Regions from separate parts of the Homo sapiens genome. Here all the other regions are linked to region 1. The links are contacts of gene promoters, found by promoter capture Hi-C in blood cells and fetal thymus (Javierre and others, 2016). All regions are on one chromosome and are shown on one strand. Each heading gives the region's core, a stretch centred on a gene start or on the middle of the fragment in contact. The rest is flanking DNA. Distances are from core to core; before and after follow the strand shown.

Region 1 (4,586 bases), core at 418-2,917:
TTGTTATCAGAACATACTTATACTTAAAAAAACCATAAAGAGGCCGGGTGCAGTGGCTCACGCCTATAATCCTGGTACTATGGGAGGCCGAGGCTGGCAGATCATGAGGTCAGGAGATCGAGACCATCCTGGCTAATACAGATATTCACTGTGTTATATGTGAAACACCGTCTCTACTAAAAATATAAAAATTAGCCGGGCGTGGTGGCAGGCGCCTGTAGTCCCAACTACTCGGGAGACTGAGGCAGAATGGCATGAACCCGGGAGGTGGAGCTTGCAGTGAGCCAAGATCGCACCACTGCACTCCAGCCTGGGTGACAGAGCGAGACTCTGTCTCTAAAAAAACAAAAACAAAAACAAAAACGAACAAACAAAAAAAAACCCCCAAACCATAAAGAACCTAAGGGATTAATTAAGAAAATAGAATATGCAGTCTTTTAAAATGGTTTTTAGGAAAGGTTTGGGATACCATGGTAAAAGGATAAGTTGTAAAGTTAAGCCAAAACATTATCCTGCCAAAAGCAGGATATAAAATTACATGTGCAATATAATAACAGTGCCTTTTTAAAAAAAACTCTTTAATTTTACACAGAAAATAGATTGAAAAGAAAAAAAAACACTAAAATGTTAAGAGTGAATATCTTTGGATAATGGATGTGCAGATTTTTAAAATTATTACTTTTGGCTGGGTGCAGTGGCTAACACTTGTAATCCCAGCACTTTGGGAGGCTGAGGCAGGCAGATTGCTTGAGCTCAGGAGTTTAAGATGAGCCTGGGCAACATAGCGAAACCCTGTCTCTACAGAAAATACAAAAACTAGCTGGGCGTGGTGGCAAGTGCCTGTAGTCCCAGCTACTCGGGAGGCTGAGGTGGGAGGATCACCAGATCCCAGAAGATTGGGGCTGCAGTGAATCGTGATCGTGCCACTGCACTCCAGCCTGGGCAACAGAGTGACACCCTGTCTCAAAAAATAAATAAATAAGTAAAAAATAAAATTATTACTTTTACTGAATTTCCCAACTTTCAAAACGAATGTTTATTACTTTTATTTTTTCAGCACAATTTCTATTTCACATGAAACATGTATTGCTTTTATCATTTAAAAATTATAACATTATTATTTTAAAAATTACTCTGCGTACAAACCTGGACAACAGAAAGCTATTCTCGTGAACCATCAGAATACACACATGGGTTATTTTTGTCATGTTCATGATTTTCAGCCAATACCATAGCTAGAGTCATTATGTAGAAGCCGTCTCAGAGCTATGGCAGCACAGGTTTTGTTTAGACTAGCAGAATAGATATTAAATATTTCACAGAGTTTTCTACTGGGATCATCAAAGATGCAATATACATGATAACAGTTTTAGAAACTTACCCACATCCCAAAACTAAAAACAAACAAAAAACCCTTGAAAATATTTTGTGTTTTCCTGAAATGTATGTTAAAGCTATCACGAACCCTAAATGAATGATCAAAGCTGATATGGTAGCTAAAGGAACAGTTGCTTGTCAAAAAAAAAAAAAAACAACAACAACTGAGCTCTCCAAACACTTTGTACACCTACCTGGGAGTTTGAACAGAGGCATTGTTGCTGAAATCCTTGATTCTAGGATAGCACAGTAGAAAAGAAGAGAGAGGAGACTGTGGGGTGACTGACTGACACTATAAAATATCCTGACATTCATTTTATTATTTTGCTTTGCCCCCGGAAATTTGATTCTTCTCTGCTAAGTGGAGAGAGATGAGCTTTGGACCTATTTATAGCTTGAGGCATTTGATAGTGAAAAACAGGTGAAGCTTTCAGTCTTTACTTTGGGATTAGAAGATATCTGTGGTGGGCCAAAAATTGCATTTCAATACTCTCTAAATCTTCTTACAGACTGGATCTTTGGCAAGTGTAGGACCACTGATGGTGATATCCCACCCTAGTGAAATACAGTGAAGTCTTTCCGGTTTCTGAAGCTATGATCCTCAGGGTTTCACATCACGCAAACAGCTTTCTGTGGTTGGTGAATATGCTGGTACATTCATCAAGCTCTCAACAGACACACACGCACACGCACACACGCTCAGGAATGCATGTTTTTATTAGTAATGTGTCTGACTTAGCAGAACTTCAGTTGACAGTTTAATGAATTAAGTGTTAAATTTACTTCAAGTCTTTTACAGAAACTCAACTGTCCTCCAGAGTATCCAGTTACCACTTCTCTACCTATTGTTATAATAAGAACAATAGCTTTGTTTTGTATAACATTTTATTGTATGTAAAACATTTGGCAAACATTATCTATTTGATACTAATTACAATCCTGTAAGGCAAGTAATACCTTATCCCTGTTTCCCAAATAAGAAAACTGGGGCTCTGACAGGTATCTTGCTCAAAGTCATTCTGTTCATCATAAATGGCAAAGCCAAGGCTCTCTGGACCCAAATCTCACGCTCTTTCCATAATAACACACAGTCTTAGTTATGACTGTATATATGTGTGTGTATATATATGTATATATGTATATATATGTGTATATACATATATTTTTTTCGAGACAGAGTCTCGCTCTGTTGCCCGGGCTGGAGTGCAGTGGCGCGATCTCGGCTCACTGCAAGCTCTGCCTCCCGGGTTCACGCCATTCTCTTGCCTGAGCCTCCCGAGTAGCTGGGACTACAGGCGCCTGCCACCATGCCCGGCTAATATTTTTTGTATTTTTAGTAGAGATGTGGTTTCACTGTGTTAGCCAGGATGGTCTTGATCTCCTGACCTCATGATCCACCTGCCTTGGCCTCCCAAAGTGCTGGGATTACAGGCGTGAGCCACTGCGCCCGGCCAGTTATGACTAAATATTTGATAGTTGCTGCTAGGTAAAGAAAGTACGCTGCTAGACTCAGCAGAAATTTTAAATTATAACAGCTTATATTGAAGATGAGCTTGGCACTTCAGATTAGCAACAGAATTATGGGCATAGACCAAATGATCTTTTTACTATTAACTATTTCTTTTTGAAAATTGGGACAAGCCTTTTTGTTGGCAAAACTTAACAATATTTTAGTGCTTAGCCTTATGGCCAACCTCTCAATCAACAATATTGCAACACATTACAAAGGTGTTACTGAACCAAAATATTTGTTCATTTCTTTCCAACTCCTTTTTGTTACATTTTTACCTGGATTTCCCAACAGTATCCACAAATTGATACATCCAAACCAAGCATCTTCCTCCATGAACCTGCTTCTCCTTCAGTAATTCCTATCTTTATATAAGTTACACTCCAATTTTCTCATTCCAATTGTGTAAATACCCTAGTTGCCTACCCAAAGATCATTTTCCCTACCTTTCTTACAAACAAAAACTTCTTTGGTTTGAGCATTAATGTGCTCAGCCAAAAAACAGCATTTGCTAGAATCCTTTGTGGCTAGAAGCGGCCATTTGACACAGCCTGGCCAAAGTGATGTAAGCAGAATTGCTGGGTGGGATGTCTCCAAAAGTTCTTTTAAAAGGGACCAGCTCAGCTGGCATATGTTTTGCCTTTTGCCCTTCCTCTTCTTCCTGCCTGAAAAAGGAAATATGTGGATAGGGGCCTCCAAACCAACCATTGTTTTAACACAAATGGTGAGCAGGACAAGAGCCACATGAAGACTATCTGAACAGAAACAAATAATTAGGGTCCCTGATGGCATCCTAAAGCCACCATATTAGTCCAGGACTTCCCATATTTAGAATTCTTGTTTAATTAAGGAATTTTTTTAAGAGACAGGGTCTCACTATGTTGCTCAGGCCAGGGTGTAGTGGTTATTGACAGGAGTGATCCTACTACTAAAATCAGCACAGGAGTTTTGACCTGCTCTGTTTCAGACCTGGGCTAGTTCACTCCTTAGGCAACTTGGTGGTCCCCCGCTCCTGGAGGGTCACCCTGTTGATGTTGAAATTAGTGTGGACACTTGATCAGCATAGATTGCTATAGCCCAGAACTCCTGGACTCAAGTGATCCTCCTACCCAAGCCTCCTGAGTAGCTGGGAGTACAAACATGCATCACCATACCCAGCAAGACTTCTTGATACATAAGAAAAATGGTTGGGCGCAGTGGCTCATGCCTGTAATCCCAGCACTTTGGGAGGCCGAGGCAGGCAGATCACGAGGTCAAGAGATCGAGATCATCCTGGCCAACATGGTGAAACCCCGTCTCTACTAAAAATACAAAAATTAGCTGGGTGTGGTGGTGCATGCTTGTAGTCCCAGCTACTCGGGAGGCTGAGGCAGGAGAATCACTTGAACTCGGGAGGTGGAGGTTGCAATGAGCTGAGATCACACCACTGCACTCCAGCCTGGTGACAAAGCAAGACTCCATCTCAAAAAAAAAAAAAAAAAAAAAGGGAAAAGTAAATTTGTTTTAGTCACTGATTAGTCAGTTTTTTTTATTATTAGAAGCCAATGTAATTCTACCTGATAAGTCATGAGTTACCTCAAAGTTGGATAATTGTAATAGATTCCTAATTATTTCCCCTGCCTCCAATCCATATTGCATAATACCACCAGGTTAAATCTTCTGAAAAACCACTTGATCATTATATTCTCAGTTCGGAAAC
Region 2 (4,245 bases), core at 636-3,135, 290 kb before region 1:
GCCAACATTTTACAACCCTTTCAAAGCATTTGCTATTGAAAGAAGGCATTCAGTGGCAAAATTCTGACATTCCAGTAAATATTACTACCCAAAGAAAAGAAAATTCTTAATTTCAAGATCAAAGTGCCAATGCTTTTCTTTTCTAAATAAGAGTAAAGAAAAAGAAGGCCCTTATTACATCTCTAGCAAATAACTCTATCTCCAAAGACTTAGGTAAGAAATTACAATTCTTCAGAAAAATATTCTGGCACTGTTTAAATATCTACTAGTTTTCTAATCCAAAAGGTTAACACTTTCAAAGAGGGCACTATTATTCAATTAAAGTTACTGCTTCTCAGGAATTTGAGAAGATATATCTTTTTTTTTTTTTTTTTTCAATTTATAGCAAGAAAAAAGCTGGGTTTACCCCAAGAATACTGACTTACTTTCACCAAAAAGAAATTGGGGGACAAGAGAGGAAGGAGAAGACTGAAAAAAACAAGTATGACTCTACTATTTTATGGTCTCTGAAATCAAGAGACAAGAGGTTGCATGAACATAAAATAATAAATGGAAGGGAAGAACTACAGCTCTGCTAAACCAAAACCTACCACTTGTAGATGCAAAAACTGATCCCTGATAATTAGTGAATTGCTCAAGCTTACTACAGAATTAGAACCAGACTGCAGGTTTTGTAACCTTAGCCCCCTATTAATTTAGAGTTTTATCTATTTTCCTTATACTGAATATAAACTAAAGGCCAGGAGATGAAATCTACTCTTTAACATTAATGTACTACTTAGATCTTAGATATTTTATTGTTAGTTTCTCTGGAAGCTAATACCAAAAGAATAACAGGCTCCCTGTTTTATAGAAATACTATGCACTGGTTAGAAGGCCATCTGCCCTGAACATTCTTCTGTTATTTATTTTTAGCTTATGAAAATCAACACCAAAAATCAATTATTTCACTGGTACCTTGGAAAGCTAAGTAGTGTTGGAACATGACAAGTTAGATGAAAGACCTTTGGACATTTTTCGCAGCACAAGAGATCTCCTCCGTTTTGGCAGACAGCACACCAGTCTTCATTTGGGTCATCATCTTTATTGTTGCCATCTCCTCCAATCCTTGCCGACCTGTGCATGAGGCTTCGAATTGGGGACTTTCCATTAACAAGGCTGCTGAGCCCTGACTGTTTGCAGCTTTCATTCATATCTGCAGGTTCAATTTTCACATGGTTTTCCAGGCTTGCCAATGCATCCAATTCACTTTCTAGATGCAGGTTGGTTGAGAGAGGTGGTGTCAAGCTACTCTCAGGACTGCTCAACTAAAACAAAACGATGACAAATTCTTGAAGAATCATTTAATCTTTATTGTATGCCATATGTGTATTTAACAGTTATGTGAATATGCATATAGATATACTGACGTAACAAATTTATTTTATAGATCACAATAGTGCCATAAAGAAATGACAATAACCCCAAAATTATTCAGGCACGCTAACATATGATTTTAAGGGGTCTGCTCCTCTGATAATGTCTCACTCAAATAATAAGTAAATTAATTAAACTGTTAAGCTATTGATTGGGAAGTGAGCATAGGGTTATACTTTTCCTTGAGAGAGCTAATTATGGCACACCCCTTTTCACACCCAGAATCTTTTGCATAGCATTTTAGAAGCATTCTATAATATTCTTCTGCTCACCTATCATTCTACTATATTGTAGGAAGGCTGCAACAACATAAAAGAAATTGTTCACCAACCTTGGCACCCATTTTTTTTATGGGGGTACTTTCTAAACCAAGTTCTGGATGAAGACGTAACAATACTCCAAAACCAAGGCTGAATCTCTTGCTCTCTGAATCTATATATACTGTGTTAAATATACCAATACCTTGAGATGAATTCCCATGTGCCAACCATATAAAAAAGGAAAAAGAAGCCCGGTCAGAAAGAGAAAACAAAAATCAAAATATTTAAACCAAGAGGGGCTTGGCCTTCCTTCATTCTGTATTAGAAATTTTATAAATGTTCCACTCAAGGAACTCCAGAATGATTAGTAATACGTAAGCCAAAAGACAAACTTCCTATCACAAAACTCTGATCAATAAATTTCTTTCATGTCAGCAATCTTAATGCTGAGCTCACAGGTCCAGGAGAATCCCAAAGATCTTTTGTGGCCTGAGATTCAATGTGACTACTGAAATAATAATTTCAGGACAAGATACAATCTGATTTAGCATCATGGGAAGAATATTGACTAAATACAAATTCAAAGATAATTTCAAATGAGTACTTAATACAATTAAGTCTTTTCTGATTAATTACAGCTGACTCTTAGACAAAAAAGTTGAGTTAGAAAAAGAGATATCTGGCTTGTGCCAGGCATGAAATTTCAAAAATAAATGTTTCTAGACCCACTACTTAGTCTTAATATACTCAGAGCTGAAAGAATCAATGAAGTGATGTCCTTAAGTCCCTGTCAGACTCCAGTGGGAGCTTACCATGCAAGCACTCCTCCTGCCATCCTCTGTTTTTTCTTGTTTTACACCTCCTGAAAAGCTACATATTTCATCTTCAGTCCCAGGTTCTTGCTTGACCTTCACCTGATCAGATTTGAAACTAAGACTTGTCTTCTCAGCAGTTCTTCCTGATGACCCACAGCTAATAAGAAACAACAAATAAAGATCACATACGTTTGACTATATGGTATAAATAAAAACAATTATATGAAAAGTAATGTTCACTAAAGTGAAGACAATAGACAATTAACTTTACAGAAGATAAGGATACCTCATAATGTAGTTAAGGGGAATGTGGTATAAAGCCTAGCTTAAAACTCTTTAAAATTATGCAGCAACTTTCAGAAGACCCTAAAAACACATTTTATGGTTTGAAGCACTTTCTTCACACACACACACGCACACACACACACTCCTATTTCTTAGCTCTGTCCACTGAAAAGGCCTAAGAAACAATGAACAATTCAGTAGCAATGAGTGCTATTAGTACTAGAATATTATCCTCAAACACTATTTTCCTGCTTTCCTGCTAACACTACCAGAACTTCCTGGGAAAGTGGCTGATTCCAGGTCTGAAGCATGAAATGTACAAAATGAACCCGAAATGCTGTTTCACAGGAAACATGGAAGCTTAAAAAAGACTGCTGTGATTATAGCAAAAGGACTAAGGAGCAAGCCTGAGAAAGCTTTGACAGGACAAAGATGGAATAATGTTCAGTGTTCAATATACATACATACAGACGTAACATATATAATGGATTAAAATATATAAAGTATGTTTAAATATCTCAGTCCATAAAGGTAATAACAATAAAACTGTCACTGTTGGAGGGTGTTGGAAATCAATTCATTACCACAAAAGCAGGGAAATAAACAGAAAGAATTTATCCTATCTTTCCTATAACCCAATAGTTGATGACAGAAAGCTTCTCTTTACAGAAATATTCTAAAGAAATAAAGAATGATACAATAATTAAAATGTAATATTTCAACCAGCAGAAAAATAATAGAGCTAAACAATGATTATTAACGGTTGCCATCACAAAAACCCCCAACCAGGCATAATTCGCCCCAAAGGAAGTATATGCCACCACTACACTACCAAGTCTTCTTGCTCTCCCTTCCCCCAAATCAAACCTAAATCTGATCAACCCTCTTGACCTAAATACCAAAATAGACAGAAAAACAGGAGGCAATGTACTTAAATGACAAGATGGAGAAATCGGGAAAACACTGTAGGAGAAACTACATTTTTACAACAAATTAACTGATAGTGATGTAAACAAATAAACTGATGGCAATGTATAGAGCTTATTTGCATCTGATTCAAAGAAATCATCTGGTTTTTTTTTCAAAGGCATTTGTTGCAAAAATTGGGAACACTAAACATTAACTGGATCTCTACTGATATTAAAGAATGAGTTGTTAAATTTTTTTAGGTGTGATCATGGTTCTGTGGTTATAAATTTTTAAAGTTCCTTTCATTAAGTGATATATACTGAAACAGTCACGAGTGAAATGACTGAGATTTGTTTCAAAATAATTCAGACCAGAAAGGAATTGGCAGAAGTATAGAAGAAACAAGATTGGCCATTATTTGATCACTGTTAAAGCTGAGTGTTAAGTATAAAGGGGTTCACTGTAATATTCTACTTTTATTATACATATTTGCTATTTTTCTTAACAAAAAGGAAAAAAATAATTATCAATATACTCACCTGCCTCGACTGCCAGTACTA
Region 3 (4,240 bases), core at 1,593-4,092, 340 kb before region 1:
GAAGGAGGAGGCTCAGAGCCTGAAGGGCTGGGGGCTGGGCAGAGGCAGACACATGGCAAGGTGGGAGGATGGGTTGAGCAGACACGAGGCCTGTTGGCCAGTCTTCAGCAGGCTCCCAGGCTCCTGAGGGAAACGTTCGGGTGTCCTCAGGCCATGCCTAACTGCCCTGAGTGGGAGGCCCATCTTGTGGGCTGGGCACCGAGTGTCCCCACCAGGCTGAACAAAGACAGCCTGAGCACAGGAATCCTGGCCAAACAGGGATCTTCGTGGCCACCATTCCACAGGTGTTGCCAACTGTAGGAACAGTGCCTGCTCTCTGCCCCTGGGTCCAACCATTCTGAAGCTGCCCGGTCCTGACTTGCAACAACCTAAGATTTTTGGTGGCACAGGAGAGGTGATAGGTTTCAGTTAAGCTACTTGGGTTGCAAGGAGCATAGAGAGTTACAGACTAACCCAGGACCATAACGTTCCAAGCCCTGGAGCTGGGATGGGAGGAGTGGCTCTTGGGACCAGCCAAGCACTCCACCGTGCTCAGCGGCCGGCCTCAGCCCTGAATGTCTACTCCGTTCCTCAAACTAAGACTCGCTGCTGCTTCTTTTACTCTCCCTTATTTACCTTTTCTCTGTCCTATAGCTTCTGCCTCTAGATAGTTTCTACCTCCTTGTAACTTTAGCCTTCCAAGACCCTCACTCAACTTCTTGGTCTTGCCCTACAGCAGGATCCTTCAGCTGAAGTCCCCATGCTGCGTGATTTTCTCCATATTCACAAATTCCAATGCCCATCTTAGACCAAACAGCCTCAGGCCCCCAGGGACAAATGTGGGGTGACCTGACAAAGCCAGGTTTATTGACTTGTTGCAGTGAAAGAGCCACACACCAGAGGAACCATGAGGCATCTCACCAAATGTAGGAGATTGATTATTATACATTGTTGGGGAAGGTGGTGTTTACGTGACATTTAAATGATCAGTGTCTTACTAGGCTCACAGCAAGGCAAAGCTGAATGTGAAGGGGCAATGTCAGGTCTGGAATGCAAAGTGAATCCAAGGACCTCTGACCTTGGAATCTAAAGTTGGGATATATGTAAAATGTTGTGTCCAGAAACCCCTTACCTGAGGCTCTGCACATGGACTGTAAATTAAGGCTACTTCCCTGTGTCAATGACTGAGATCCTCTAAGCAACAGAGAGGTGTTTTATTCTTACTGATGTAATTTCAAACAGTGAAATTTCTGATAGTCTATATTTTAGAGGACAAAGTTTCTCAGTGAGTGAGAAAACAGTAGTCACTCAAAGAAGACAGTTACGACATTTTACAGCTGCACTGTGTCCTTGAGGAAAATAATGTTTTCTGTGAACTTTGCAGCTCACTTTATCCATGTCATTATTCCGGCACGATAGTCGGCCGGCAGATTCTTTCTTTCTTATGTTCAAAAAGAGCATCTGCTTGGCCCAGCCTATCTTTGCAGGCTGCTTCCCAGCTCAGGCACAGGGTGTCCTCGGGTTCCGCTTTCCCCCAGCCCAGGTCTCATCAGTGATACTAGGAAGAAGGCTGTCCTTCAGGCCACTCTCCTGAAGGGGCTGCGGACATAGCCGGTGTCCTGCTGAATGAATTCCACATGAAAATGGGAGCTCCAGCTCCAGAGCTGGGTAAAGTCCCTCATTCAGTCTACTTGGTCAGGATGGAAGCATCCTGCAATGCCCACCCACCACTCCTTGCTCCACTCTGCCTTTCCACGTGGAAGCACGTGTCCTCCGGCAAAGGATAAACTGCTTAAACAAGAAAGAAGTTTCTCTCCAGGTGACAGTCCGGAGGTAGGCAAGTGGTCCAGGGCTGGTGTGTGGCTCTGCCATCCTCAGGCATGGCTTCCGTTTGCAGCTGCAAATGGCTAGTACAGTCCTTGCCAATGCCTAGCCAGCAGGCCAGGAAAGACATGGGAACACACACTCAGTCCTCTTAAGTGCAAGAATATAACATTCTGGGAACTAAGGTGTATGATTTCAGCTCATTTGTCATTCGCAGGACTTGCTCAGGTAAGGGAGGCTGGGAAAGAGACTTGACTTGGTGGCCACGTGCAGGAGCTGTCAACCCTCTCCTAACCCACCACTTAGAGACAGTGCCCTTCTTGTTGGCTAGCCTCTTCCATCCACAGGCAAATGCGTCCTTTCCTCTTTTGTCCTGTCCTAGTCTCTAAAAGAACCAGAGATGTTAACATCTGAGCCTCCCCTGAGTGCAGACCAATGGGGACAGGGCTGCAGATCCTGGGCAGGGATCTCCGTGCTGATGGTGAGGAGACATTGTCAGTGGCCCTTGCTCCACCAGAGTCCTCCCTGCAGCGCCCTTCACCGCCCAGCCCCCTTGCCCACCCCTGTCATTTGGTGCTCAATTTCAGATGCCTGCCCATCCCCTGCCTTGCTCCAAAGAACTTTGGTAGGTAGAGGAGGCACTGCTCCAGGGCCCCAGGAGCATGGGAGTATCCTGAGGCCAGTCGGTGCCTCCAGGGCTCTTCCCGGCCTCCTCCAAACAGCATGTTCTCTTCTCCCTTCCTTGGGGCTAAAAGGAGTCGGACCATGTGAGAGTGGAGGGTACTGAGGTTGTGCTGGCCTTTGTGCTCAGCACCCTCCATCCACTGCCACCCACCTATGCCACTCTCTTGGCTTGTTGACTGGCCAGGCTGGGGACGCAGTTTTCTTACATGTCCAGAGCAAAGCAGTAGAAGACAGGCCAGCACTGCAAGCTTGAGCCTACGTGCTCCAGCATCTCCGAGCTCCCAGGCATCCACCCACCCCACACCTCAGCCACTGGCTCCTGGGCCCTGGCAAGTGCCACATTCCTGATGTGGTGGACGCTGTCCCAACTCATGTCAGGCCAGGCCCAGAGGCAATGGGAACTGATGGACAAGATGGATCACCACCTCCCCACCTACACAATTATTGTAGACATCCCACCCGAAAGCTTGTTCTATAGTTGCCATGGAGGAATGCCCCAGAGGAATGAATTGGTACCAAGGTCATAGTGACTTCATGCACCAAACGCAGGGAGGTATAGCAGTGAAGTGCATAGACTTGAAGTCAGGTTAGCTGCGTTTAAATCTGAGGTCTACCACTTCCCAGCAACTGGGATCTTGAGCAATTATTTAACTCCTCTAAACCTCAGTTTCTTCATTTCTAAAATGAGACTAATAATGGTAGCACACTTCATAATCATCAAGGAAGACTAAAACAATTGTTACACCAAAAGTGCTTAAAACAGGGCCTAGAACAAAATGAGCATTTCATAAATGTTGGCTATTGTTACTTTTCTAGAGGTCTTTGGATTCAATGAATCAATATGACAATACATGACCTTGTGGAAAGACACTAATGGTGGTCTCCCACACATCAAGTCACAGAAGTGGGGGACATAGTTTTAGGGCATTGGGAAAGCTGGTGTTGCTCACAGGGAACTGTCTGATGTAGAAAAGGGCTTCCCGGGAACTGTGAAGTCAGAAAAATTGGTCAAAATCATACTGATTGCTGTTAACATGTCGGAGGCAGGCAGGCTGCAGAGACAAAGCCTCTGGGGTCTCCTGATCACCACTGCGTAAAACCCAGGTTATTCTCCAGCACCCCTAGGACAATCTCACCCCACAAGCAAAAAGGATGGTTGTGTGAACCCTGCTGTTGTAAACCTGGGGCTGGGAAAAGTGAGACCAATTTGTTGGATAAAGATGTGAGGACATTTAAGCCCTTGCCATGCATGAAGTTAGGAAGATGGCAATCATTTTTGCTTATAGCAATGCCTTAAAACTTATCCTATATCAGCAGCTGTGACTGGGAAGAGCCCTGTGCTGGGAGTGCAAACGAGACCATGAGCTTCTTGAGGTAGGTGTGGATCTAATCAATTGCCTGGCACACAGATGATGCTCAGTAAATATTGGCTGGATGAAGTCAGGAAACCTGTGTTCCAGTCTCTGCTCTGTAGGGAGCCAACAGTGTCACCCCGGTCAATATGCCTCTCCTCCAGGGTTGCTGTTCCCCATCTGCCTCTAGACTTGATATCTGAGATTCCATTGAGCAGTAAGATTCTGTCCGTTCCCAGCCTAGGAGCTTGCTGCCCACCTAAGGAGACCTGTCTTGCTGTAAGACCCTCAGGCCTTGCCCTCCTCAACCTCAGCAGGGAGACTGCCTGCCTGAGTTGGAGGTGGTGTGTGTGGTGGAAAGGCAAGGCTCCATGTTTTTTTCCTTTTGACTGCTCGATAGT

What was found. The method cuts DNA at HindIII sites, captures the fragments that hold promoters and counts their contacts. A CHiCAGO score of 5 or more calls a contact.
Region 2: a fragment that was not itself captured here is called in contact with the fragment with the promoter of AMPD1 in region 1 in 2 of 17 cell types (total B cells and naive B cells); the score reaches 6.1 in total B cells.
Region 3: a contact is called between a fragment that was not itself captured here and the fragment with the promoter of AMPD1 in region 1, in 2 of 17 cell types (naive B cells and total B cells). The highest score is 8.3, in naive B cells.

Annotation. Positions count from the first base shown.
Region 1 is chr1:114,693,879-114,698,464 of GRCh38, forward strand. AMPD1 (adenosine monophosphate deaminase 1) reads right to left here and starts at 1,668. Exons shown (of 16, transcript NM_000036.3): 1 at 1,572-1,668. The coding sequence starts at 1,593. It also overlaps the pseudogene RN7SL432P. The HindIII fragment of the contact is 1,819 bases long and covers 1-1,802 here.
Region 2 is chr1:114,404,453-114,408,697 of GRCh38, forward strand. TRIM33 (tripartite motif containing 33) reads right to left here. Exons shown (of 20, transcript NM_015906.4): 13 at 4,225-4,245; 14 at 2,489-2,648; 15 at 958-1,307. Among named protein-coding and RNA genes, the nearest start is that of TRIM33, 100 kb to the right of the region's middle. The HindIII fragment of the contact is 2,497 bases long and covers 638-3,134 here.
Region 3 is chr1:114,348,549-114,352,788 of GRCh38, forward strand. No RefSeq gene overlaps it. Among named protein-coding and RNA genes, the nearest start is that of TRIM33, 160 kb to the right of the region's middle. RefSeq lists enhancers at 163-663, 3,952-4,240. The HindIII fragment of the contact is 218 bases long and covers 2,734-2,951 here.